Regions from separate parts of the Homo sapiens genome. Here regions 2 and 3 are each linked to region 1. The links are contacts of gene promoters, found by promoter capture Hi-C in blood cells and fetal thymus (Javierre and others, 2016). All regions are on one chromosome and are shown on one strand. Each heading gives the region's core, a stretch centred on a gene start or on the middle of the fragment in contact. The rest is flanking DNA. Distances are from core to core; before and after follow the strand shown.

What was found. The method cuts DNA at HindIII sites, captures the fragments that hold promoters and counts their contacts. A CHiCAGO score of 5 or more calls a contact.
Region 2: a fragment that was not itself captured here is called in contact with the fragment with the promoter of NPIPB7 in region 1 in 1 of 17 cell types (naive CD8 T cells); the score reaches 7.2 in naive CD8 T cells.
Region 3: a contact is called between a fragment that was not itself captured here and the fragment with the promoter of NPIPB7 in region 1, in 1 of 17 cell types (neutrophils). The highest score is 6.7, in neutrophils.

What each region holds. Positions count from the first base shown.
Region 1 is chr16:28,470,676-28,474,616 of GRCh38, reverse strand. It overlaps NPIPB7 (nuclear pore complex interacting protein family member B7), which reads left to right and starts at 2,281. Exons shown (of 7, transcript NM_001396030.1): 1 at 2,281-3,941. It also overlaps a transcript of CLN3 not described here. RefSeq lists a silencer at 722-791. The HindIII fragment of the contact is 21,132 bases long and covers 1-3,941 here.
Region 2 is chr16:28,272,307-28,276,247 of GRCh38, reverse strand. It overlaps a transcript of SBK1 not described here. Among named protein-coding and RNA genes, the nearest start is that of SBK1, 18 kb to the left of the region's middle. The HindIII fragment of the contact is 1,929 bases long and covers 750-2,678 here.
Region 3 is chr16:28,620,890-28,624,830 of GRCh38, reverse strand. It overlaps a transcript of SULT1A1 not described here. Among named protein-coding and RNA genes, the nearest start is that of SULT1A1, 13 kb to the right of the region's middle. RefSeq lists silencers at 1,159-1,328, 1,379-1,428 and an enhancer at 1,519-1,648. The HindIII fragment of the contact is 9,807 bases long and covers 1-3,941 here.

The sequences.
Region 1 (3,941 bases), core at 1,032-3,531:
TTCCCAAAGTGGCTGCAATTTTACATTCCACTGGCAGTGTACGAGGACTCCACGTCCCCACCAATACTTGCTCTTTTCCATTCTTTTTCCACCGCAACCTCCGTCTCCCCGGTTCAAGTGATTCTCCTGCCTCAGCCTCCCTCTTTTTTTTTTATTTTTGAGACAGTCTCGCTCTGTTGCGCAGGATGGAGTGCAGTGGTGCTATCTCGGCTCACTGCAATCTCAGTCTCCTGAGTTCAAGTGATTCTCCCACCTCAGCCTCCCAAGTAGCTGGGATTACAGGCATGCGCCACTACACCTGGCTAATTCTTTTTTGTTGTTGTTTTTTGTTTTTGTTTTGTTTTGTTTTTTCAGATGGAGTCCTGCTCTGTCACCAGGCTGGAGTGCAGTGACGCAGTCTCTGCTCACTGCAGCCTCCGCTTCTGGGTTCAAGCTATTCTTCTGCCTCAGCCTCCCAAGTAGCTGGGATTACAGGCACCCACCACCACACCTGGCTAATTTTTGTATTTGTTATGGAGACGAGGTTTCGCCATGTTGGCCAGGCTGGTCTCCAACTTCTAAACTCAGGTGATCCACCGGCCTTGGCCTCCCAGAGTGCTGGGATTACAGGCATGAGCCACCGTGCCCAGCCTCTTTTCCGTTTTTGTTTTTTTTTTTTCCTTTGGTTGTCTGGTTTGGTTTTTATTATAGCCTTTCTAGTGAGTGTGAAGTGGTATCTCACTGTGGTTTTGATTTGCATGTCCCTGGTGACTAATGATGCTGAGCATCTTTTCATGTCCTTATTGACCGTACATATAGTTCTTTGAGAAATGTCTTCTCAGATCCTTTGCCCATTTTTAAATGGGATTGTCTTTTTTTATTAAAGAGCCAGAGATCTGAAGTCTTTTTGAGTTGTAAGATTTCTTCATATATTCTAGACAGAAGTCCCTTATAAGATACATGATTTGCAAATATTTTCTCCCATTCTGTGTTGTCTTTTTACTTTTTTGATATTGTCTTTTGGTACGGAAAGACACTTATTTTGATGAAGTCCAATTTATCTATTTTTTGTTTGGTTGCTTGTGCTTCTGGTAACATATCTAAGTGGGAGCCAGGTGCAGTGGCTCATGCCTGTAATCCCAGCACTTTGGGAGGCCAAGGCGGGAGGTTTGCTTGAGACCAGGAGTTCAAGACCAGCATGAGCAACATTGCAAGGTTCTATCTCTATAAAAAATTAAAATAATGATAAAAGGAGGCCGGGCGTGGTGGCTCATGCCTATAATCCCAGCATTCTGGGAGGCAGGAGGACAACTTGGGCCAGGAGTTCAAGACCAGTCTGGGCATCATGGCAAAAAAAGAAAAAAGAAAAAATTATCCTGGCAAGGTATGCCTGTAGTCCCAGCTACTTGGGAGGCTGAGGCGGGAGAATTGCTTGAGCCCGAGAGGTGGAGGTTGTAGTGAGCTGAGATTGAACCATTGCACTCCAGCCTGGGTGACAGGAATGAAACCCTGTCTCAAAAAATAAAAATAAAATAAGCCAGGTGTAGTGCTGCGTGCCTGTACTCCCAGCTACTCTGGAGGCTGAAGTGGGAGGATCACTTGAGCCTAGGAATTCGAGGCTGCAGTGAGCTATGATCATACCACTGCACCCCAATGTGGGCACAGAGCAAGACCCTATCTCTTAAAAAACAAACAAAGAGGGGCGGGGTGCAGTGGCTCACGCCTGTAATCCCAGCACTTTGGGAGGCTGAGGCGGGCAGATCACGAGGTCAGGAGATCGAGACCATCCTGCCTAACACGGTGAAACCCCATCTCCTTTTTTTTTTTTTTTTTTTTTGAAACAGAGTTTCATTCTTTTTGCCCAGACTCCCGGGTTCAAGCGATTCTCCTGCCTCAGCCTCCTGAGTAGCGGGGATTACAAGGGTGTGCCACCACACCCAGCTAATTTTTTATATTTTTAATAGAGGCGGGGTTTCACCGTGTTGGCCAGGCTGGCCTCAAACTCCTGACCTCAAGTGATCCGCCCACCTCGGCCTCCCAAAGTGCTGGGATTACAGGCGTGAACCAGCGCGCCCAGCCTCCTACATTTTCTTCTAAGAGTTTTATAGTTTTAGCTCTTACATTTAGATCTTGTTTTCATTTTGAATTAACTTTTTTGCAGGTGGTGTGATACAGCAGTCTGTGCAGAAAAAAGTTAACATAGTAGACCCTAACTGCTAACTTTATTTTTACTTTTATTTTTTATTTTGTTTAGAGACAGGGTTTTTGTCACCCAGGATGGAGTGAAGTGGCGTGATCATAGCTCACCGTAACCTTGAACTCCTGGGCTCCTCTGCCTCAGCCTCCCAATTAGCCACCACACCCAGCTACCTTTTGTACATTTTTTTGGTAGAGACGGTGTCTCACTATGTTGCCCAGTCTGGTCTCAAACTCCTCAGCTCAAATGATCTGCCCACCTTGACCTCCAGAGATACTGGGATTACAGGCGTGGGCCACTGCACCAGACCCAGGTTTATTCTTACACCAATACAACACTGTCTTAATTACTATAGCTTTGTAGTGAGCTTTTGAAAATAGGAAATGTGAATCCTCCAACTTTTTTTTTTTGGAGACGGAGTCTCGCTCTGTTGCTCAGACTGGAGTGCAGTGGCACTATCTCAGCTCACTGCAAACTCCATCTTCCAGGTTCAAGTGATTCTCCTGCCTCAGCCTACCAAGTATCTGGGACTACAGGCAGGTGCCACCATGCACAGATTCCTTGGACATCCCTGAGAGGTCAATCATGAAGGTCAACTTGGTTTTCTCCCCCTCATTTGGGTTCAGAATTTAAAGTCCACACACACAGGCAGTAAGATGATTATAGATAAGGACATCATCACTCGGTTTCGGATGTTAAATTGTCTAGGTGGGTTAGGGGTGATTTGAGATCACACAACCTTGTGCCACAAAGAGGAATTCCCAGGCCAGAGGGAGACATTTTATTGCCATGTTATGATCTTATCATTGAGTTGAAAGGCAATCTTGTTTCATTTTGGATTCTTTCTTATGTTTATGTCTTATAAGGGCACTTTGAATTTCCAAGCAAATAATAATTTTGAATTAGCTTTTAATCATTGACTTCTAGCACAGTTATATGATCAGAAACGTGCTGTGTGATTTGATTGCTCTCAAATATATTGAGATTTGCTGGAACAAAATAAGTCAGGTTAATTTTTGTAAATGTACCATGCTTGCTTAAAATGAATGTATCTACATTTGTTCCTGAGATACGGGTTGATGGACGGATGGCTACATGGATGTGATGGAGATGGTTTACTATCGGGACCTTCCGCATCCTGCTGATGTTTTGTTGCTTAGGATATGAATGGCTGAGCGGAGGCTGTAAAACCTGGCACTCTGCTTGGGTATGAGGTTCTTCCTGCCATCCTGCCATCATTTGTTTTTTATGTTTTGTCGCCAAAAGTGACCTTGAGGAACCCTGGGAGCTCAGGAAGGAAGGAGCGCCCAGAAGCAGGGACAGGGAGCTGGTTGGGGAGGACCAGAAATCAGGTTTGTGAAGGTTCCAGAGAGGACCTGTCCTTGCGAGGAGTGTGGGAGACTGAGATGGGGGAGGGGTCATTGGAATGATGCGGGCGCTACTTGGCATTGTCCATTGTGAGGCACCACCGGGGTCATCAGGGATTGGTGGAGAGGGAGTATAAAGCCCCAGGTTTGCTAAGGGAGGGCCCAGACCGAAGAAGGTTTGGCGGATAGCAGAACCTTTTTGTCTCCCTCTAATTGCTCCTAAGCCTCACGCTCCCTTGCCCCGCGTGTCCTGTTGCTTCCCTGATCTTCTCCGTGACCTGTAGCTAAACCTTCCACCAGCGCTTGAGAACTTAATTTGAACCGGATCCTTTCCCAGACCCCTTTCTTCTTCTCCTCCTCCACCTCCTCCAGGTGCCCAACAGCCCCCTTCTCCTCCT
Region 2 (3,941 bases), core at 465-2,964, 200 kb after region 1:
CCCCCAGGGGTGCTGACGTTGCTGTCCGTGGAGCCCACTCTGTAGCAAGGTCTGGGATGACTTCCCACCTCCTCCTCTCTCCTCAAACAAACCGTGGCTCCCACTTTGCTGAGAAAACAGATGGATGAGATACATTTCCACTGCCTCCGCCATCAAACCACAACCCCTCCTCCAGCCTCCCTCCTCCTCCACTTCTTCCATCCGCTTCAGTGGCAGAAGGGCCCTTCCCCTGAGGGGCTACAGGGACCCAGTTTCTTCAGAGGTTCCCTTCTTCCCCACTCCGTCCTCCTCATTCTTTCTTTTTCTTTTTCTTTACCCTTTCCTTCCTTCCTTCGTTCCTTCCTTCCTTCCTTCCTTTTTTTTGAGACAGGGTCTTCCTCTGTCACCCAGGCCAGAGTGCTGGAGTGCAGTGGTGCAGTGATAGCTCACTGCAGCCTCTAACTCCTGGACTTAAGCGATCCTCCCACCTCAGCCTCCTGAGTAGCTGTTACTACAGGTATGCACCATGGTTGGCTAATTTTCTTATTTTTTGTAGACTCAGGGTTTCGTCATGTTGCCAAGGCTGGTCTTGAACTCCTGGGCTCAAACGATCCACCTGCCTTGGCCTCTCAAAGTGCTGGAATTACAGACATGAGCCACTGCACCGGGACCCCCTCATTCTTTTTCCAGGACTTTCTTGTGGGCACCAAGGCTCTGGCGTCTCCTCCTGACCCACGTCTTGAGCCATTTCTGGGCCCCCGAACAAAGCTTCTTGATGGAACTGGCTTCCTTCTCTCTGCTCTGCAACTTCCCAGTCTCTTTTGTTTGTTCTTATTATTTCTTCTCTTCTTATATACATATAGAAAATATACTTTTAATTTGTATTCAAGTTAGATATGCCCATTGTTTAGAATCAACGCACAGGGGCAGCCTCACCCCCATTTCTCACTTATTTTTTAAGAGATGGAGTCTCGCTCTGTCACCCAGGCTGGTGTGCATTGGTGTGATCACGGCTCACTGTAGCAATCCTCCCGCCTCAGCCTCCTGTGTAGCTGGGACCACAGGCACAAGCCCCAGTGACTGGCTAATTTGTAATTTTTTGTAGAGATGGGGGAGGGTCTCACTATATTGCCCAGGCTGGTTTCGAACTTCAGCCCTCTAGAGATCCTCCTGCCTCGGCCTCCCAAAGTGCTGGGGTTACAGCGTGAGCCACCACGCCCGGCCCCTTTTCCCACTTCATAAGGACAACCATCTCAACTCTTTTAGCTCGTGATTAGTCATTTTTACCTCCACATTTCCTACATACCATGTTTACATTGCTTCTTTTCCAGTTTTAGGCATTCCTTACCAACCTCCCACTTTGGGAGAAGAGGATTTAGCTCCTTATGTCCAACCACTCCCTCTCCCACCCACTCCCACATCCTATCCCCCCTCACATTACAGTTGCATTATAACATTGGTAAGACTGGAAATGTTTACATATTGTGGAAACGTTATTTACAGCTCTGTGTGGAACACTATGATTCCTTTCTTTTTTTTTCAATAATAGGCTTTATATTTTAGAGTAGTTTTAGGCTTACAGAACAATTGAGCAGAACGTGTTTCTTTTTATTTTTTGAGACAGAGTCTCACTCTCTCACCCAGGCTGGAGTGCAGTGGCTCGATCTCGGCTCACTGCAACCTCCGCCTCCTGGGTTCAAGCGATTCTCCTGCCTCAGCCTCCCGAATAGCTGGGATTACAGGCACCCACCACCATGCCTGGCTAATTTTTTTGTATTTTTAGTAGAGACGGGGTTTCACCATGTTGGCCAGGCTGGTCTTGGACTCCAGACCTCGGGTGCTCTGCCTTCCTCGGCATCCCAAAGTGCTGGGATTACATGTGTGAGCCATCGCACCTGGCCTGAGCAGAACGCGTTTGAATTGACCAAGAGACTTTCAGTTTTGTAGTATACTTCCTCTCCTCCCAACAAATTTCTCCTACCATTAACATCTTGTATCAGCGTGGTGCACTTGTTAAAACTGATGAACCAAGATTGATACATAGTTGCTAACTAAAGTTCATATGTTACATCATCGGGGCTCATTCTTTGTTTTGTAGAGTTCCATGGGTTTTGACAAATGTATGTTACAGGTCCACCCTCCCAGTATCATACAGAATAGTTTCACTGCCCTAAAAATCCACCATGCTGTACCTCTTCATCCCTCCCTCTCTCCCGCCAGCCCCCTGGCAACCACTGATCTTTTTATTCTCTTTAGTTTTGGTTTTTCCAGAATGTCATATCACTGGAGTCAGATAGTACTTTTCAGACTGGCTTCTTTCACGTAGCAATACACATTTAAGGTTCCTCTGTGTCTTTTGGGTGGCTTGATGGCTCATTTTATCACTGAATGTTCCATTGTATGGGTGTACCTATAGAAGGACATTGTCATTGTGGTTTCTTCCAAGTTTTGGCAATTATGAATAAAGCTGCTATAAATATTCATGTGCAGATAAGACACCAAAAACAGGCAGCAAAAACAAGAATAGACAAGTGGGGCTGGGCGCAGGGACTCTCGCCTGGAATCCCAGCACTGTGGGAGGCCAAGGTGGGTGGACTGCTTGAGCTCAGGAGTTTAAGACCAGCCTGGGTAACACGGCATAACCCCATCTCTACAAAAAAATGAAATGGACAAGTGGGACTACATCAAACTAAAAAGCTTCTGCTTAGCAAAAGAAACAATCTACACAGTGAAAAGACAACCTATGGCCGGGCATGGTGGCTCATGCCTGTAATCCCAGCACTTTGGGAGGCCGAGGCAGGCGGATCACCTGAGGTCAAGAGTTTGTTGAGACCAGCCTGGCCAAAATGGTGAAACCCCATCTCTACTAAAAATACAAAAATTAGCTGGGCATGGGGGCTCACGCCTGTAATCTCAGCTACTTGGGAGCCTGGGGCAGGAGAATTGCTTGAACCCAGGAGGCGGAAGTTGCAGTGAGCCGAGACTGCGCCATTGCACTCTAGCTTGGTCAATAAGAAAGAAACTCTGTCTCAAAAGAAAAAAAAAAAATCTGAAAGAGAGGCCAGGTGCGGTGGCTCACACCTTTAATCCAGCACTTTGGGAGTTCAAAGTGAAGGGACTGCTTGAGGCCATGAGTTCGAGACCAGCCTGGGCAACATAATGAGACCCTGTCTCTAAAAAAAGAAAAAAATAATTCTCAAAATGGTATTAGCACTCCTGTGTTCTTTACAACAATATTCACAATAGCCAAATGTAGAAATAACCCAAATGGGTTGAATGGATGAAAAAAATGTGATCTATACATGCAACAGGGACTACTACAATTAAGCCTTAAAAATATGCGATGACAGGCCAGGCATGGTGGCTCACGCCTGTAATCCCAGCACTTTGGGAGGCCGAAGTGGGTGGATCACAAGGTCAGGAGTTCGAGACCAGCCTGGCCAATATGGTGAAACCCTATCTCTACTAAAAATACAAAAATTAGCCAGGCGTGGTGGGGCATGCCTGTAGTCCCAGCTACTCAGGGGGCTGAGGCAGAAGAATCGCTTGAACCTGGGAGGCAGAGGTTGCAGTGAGCCAAGATCATGCCACTGCACTCCAGCCTGGGTGACAGAGTGAGACTCCGTCTCAAAAAAAAAAAAAAAAAAAAGAAAGAAAGAAAGAAAGAAAAAAAATATGTGACAACATAGATGAAACTCAAGGACATTATGCAAAGCAAAATAAGCCACAGAAGGACACATATCTCATAATTCCACTTATATGGGATATCTAAAGAAGTCTAATTCCTAGATTTTGGTTCTATAGTTGTCAGAGTTGCAGAAGAAATTGGGGAATAGCTCATCAGTAGGCATAAAGATTCAATAAAGCAAGATGAATAAGCTCTAAAGAGCTGCTGTGTAACTCTGTACCAGGGGCTCACACCTGGAATCCCAGCACTTTGGGAGGCTGAGGCTAGAGGACCA
Region 3 (3,941 bases), core at 669-3,168, 150 kb before region 1:
GCAGTGGGGCGATCTTGGCTCACTTCAAGCTCCACCTCCTGGGTTCAGGCCATTCTCCTGCCTCAGCCTCCCGAGTAGCTGGGACTACAGGTGCCCACCACCACGCCCAGCTAATTTTTTGTATTTTTAGTAGAGACGGGATTTCACCGTGTTAGCCAGGATGGTCTGGATCTCCTGACCTCGTGATCCGCCCGCCTTGGCCTCCCAAAGTGCTGGTATTACAGGAGTGAGCCACCGTGCCCGGCCGTCCCTTCATTTTTTAAGATAAATTCACATACCATAAAACTTACCATTTTATTTTCTCTCTCTTTTTCTTTCTTTCTTTCTTTTTTTTTTTTTTTTTTTTTTTTTTTTTGCAGGCTGGAGTGCAGTGGCCCTATCGTGGCTCACTGCAACCTTGAATTCCTGGGCTCAAGAGATCCTCCCACCTCAGACTCCCAAGTAGCAGTAGCTGAGACTATCAGTGCGCACCACCAAGTCTGAGTAATTACAATACTTTTTTCTTTTTCTTTTTCTTTTTTTTTTCGTAGAGATGGGGTCTTCCTATTTTGTCCAGGCTAATCTGGAACTCCTGCCCTCAAAGGATCCTCCTGTCTAATTCTCTCAAAGTGCTGGGATTACAGGCATGTGCCACCGCACCCGGCCAAATGCACCTCCTTTTTTCAAGTGTACAATTCAATGGTTTTTAATATATTCACAAAGTCATGGAACCATCACACCTATCTAATTTCAAAATGTTTTCATCACTCCAAAAAATAACCCCATATGGGAGGCCGCGGCGGGCAGATCACTCGAGACCAGCCTGGCCAACATATTGAAACCCCGTCTCCACTAAAAATACAAAAATTAGTCGGGCGTGATGGCGCACGCGTGTAGTCCCAGCTGCTCGGGAGGCTGAGGCAGGAGAATCGCTTGAACCCGGGAGGCGGAGGTTGCAGTGAGCCCAGATCGCCCCACTGCACTCCAGCCTGGGCGACAGAGCGAGACTCCGTCTCAAAAATATCTAATTAATTAATAAAAATAAAATAAATAAATAAATAAATAACCCCATGCCTTCTGCCTCTGTGGCTTTGCCTATTCTGGGTATTTTGTGTCAACGGACCCATGCATGGGGGTGGGCCGGGCACCTTTCAAACGTTCAGCCCCCACGACGGCCCGTGGCCTCCGGATTGGACGGCACGAGCTGGGTGTGCGCGGGGCGCCCAACCGCTCAGGAGCTCCTGGAGGAGGCAGGTGCAGGTGCCGGCTGCTGCAGCGCAGTAGCTGCTGGAGGCTGGCGAGGCCCGGAGGCGGTGCAGGAAGCCTCCGACCACGCGGGCTCCTGATCGCGGGCGCCCACAGCGCGGACATGGCGGGCTGGTGGCCGGCGTTGTCGCGCACGGCCCGGCGCCACCCGTGGCCCACCAACGTGCTGCTCTACGTTGCTCGAGCAACGTAGCTCTACGCTCTACGAGCGTGCCGTAGCTCGCTCGTCTCCGCCGGGGACGTGCTGCAGCAACGGCTGCAGGGCCGCTAGGCCGACTGGCGCCAGACGCGGCGCGTGGCCACGTTGGTGGTGACCTTCCACGCCAACTTCAACTACGTGTGGCTGGGCCTGCTGGAGCGCGCGCTCCCGGGCCGAGCGCCGCGCGCCATGCTGGCCAAGTTGCTGTGCGACCAGGTGGTCGGTGCGCCCATCGCGGTCTCGGCCTTCTACGCCGGTGAGGGGCCGGGGGGGGAACCTGGGGGGTGGGACCAGTATTGGGGGACTGGAGGCAGGGACTTGGGGATCAAGCGGCTGGAGGGAGGGCGCTGCAGGAGCCTGGGGACCCGGGCAGGAGCCGGGGCTCTGAGACCGGAGCTGCTTCAGAGGCCTGAAGGGCCAGGGCAAAGGCTGGAGGCTGGGGTGTTTGATTGCGAGAAGTTGCAGGAGGCACTGGCTGGGGAGCCGAGAAATTGGGGAGCCAGAGGTACAGCAGGTCAGGAATTTAGAGGACTAGGGTCGGGGCTCAGACTCTGGGGTTGGGTGTAGGCCAAGGCTGGAGGTAGGCAGGGCTGCGGAGGTCTTTGCCCCCTGAAAAAGGCCCACGGGAAAATAAAGGAGATCCCAGTTCAAGGCCATAGCAGCTGCAATGACCGTGAACCAATCGTGGGACAGGGAAGGAACCGACCTGCTGTTCAGAAAATCCACGCCTGGGGCCCCGGGGCCAACACAGGAACAAAATGCAAGGGGACCCGTGACCCTGGGGGGCAGAGCAGGTGGAATCTGAGGTTGGGCCTGGATCTTCAGCAAATTCATGCCCAGGGGCCTAGTCCTGCTTTGGTAACAAGATTTTCCCCTGGGGTCTCACGGAAAACATCAAGGGACCTTGGATCCTTGCCATAGAGGACTATATACCTGTGAGGGTTCAGGGAACCCTCTCCTTAGAAAATCCGACCCGGGCCTGGGGTGTGGGGGACAGGGGCTTGACTGTGGAAACCTTCTCTACTGCGTACAATAAGAACAATGGAAATGTTACCTGAAAAATACCGGGGTTCATTCCCTTAACGAGTCACAAATGACTCCACCAAGAGGCGGGTTTTGATCAATGGGAGTTTTACTTGGCACAAGAAAGGAAGACACTGGGCATATTCTCCCAAGTAGTGTGTCCCCCAGAGAAAGAGACAGGAGGGTTTTATGGGGTGATGGAGAAAGGAGAGGGTGCATGATTGCATGTAGAGTAGGGGTCCCAGTGAGTCATGATGCTAGCGCATAGGTTGCATAGGTTATAGTCATGAAGCTATAGCTTCTCCCGGGGTGAAGACTTTAGCATGGTAATGAGGAGAGTTAACTTGGGTTCATCTGTAAGTAACCTGGGGTCATTTAGGAGCTGATTTAAACAAACAGGGTGACCTCATTCCACCCAGGGCTGGGGAAGAACAGGTTGAGGTCAGGAGGCTGTAAAACAGGCTGATCACTCAAGTTGGTTAAATTCTTGTAATCTTTGGAGATCCTCCATCTGCTCACAGGAGGGTCCCTGTGGCCTCTATCATCATTGCAATTTCTATAGCCTTGAAGGGGATGGGGTGGGTAACTGGGGAGAAAATCTCTATGGGTCTTAAGCCTGACGGGGTCAGTGGGTCAGGAGAACAGACAGCCGGGGAGCTAGGGCCTCCTGTTTTATCAGAAGGTCTGTGCCTGGTCCCGGCGTGTGATTTGCAGACTAGATTTGCAAACAGCTTCCTAGCAACTGTTAAAGAAGTCTTGTACAGCGGTGAAGGGGTAGGGGACCAGAATGCTATTTAATCCTCAAAAAACTAGTGAGATTGTTCTCTTTTTCTTTTCTTCTTCTTCTTCTTCTTCTTTTTTTTTTTTTTTTTTTTTTTTTTGAGACAGAGTCTTGTTTTATTGCCCAGCCTGGAGTGTGCAGTGGCCTGATCTCAGCTCATTGAAACCTCCATCTTCAGGTTCAAGCGATCCTCCTGCCTCAGCCTACCAAGTAGCTGGCATTACAGATGCACACCACCATGCCCGGCTAATTTTTGCATTTTTAATGGAGACAAAGTTTCACCATGTTTGCCAGGGTCGTCTCGAACTCCTGAACTCAAGTAATCTGCCCATCATGGCCTCCCAAAGTGCTGGGATCACAGACGTGAGCCCTCGCACCTGAGATTGTTCTTATTACTCTCATGTTACAAATGAGGAAACAACTAGTGAAATTAGTGAAATTGTTCTCTTTTTCTTTTCTTTTTTTTTTTGGGAGACAGAGTCTCGCTTTATCATCCTGGCTGGAATGTGCATTGGCCCGATCTCAGCTCACTGCAACCTCCACTTTCTGGGTTCAAGTGATCCTTCTGCCTCAGCTTCTCGAGAAGCTGGGATTACAGGCATGCGCCACCACACCCAGCTAATTTTGTATTTTTAGTAGAGACGGGGTTTCTCCGTGTTGGTCAGGCTGGTCTCGAACTCCTGACCTCAGGTG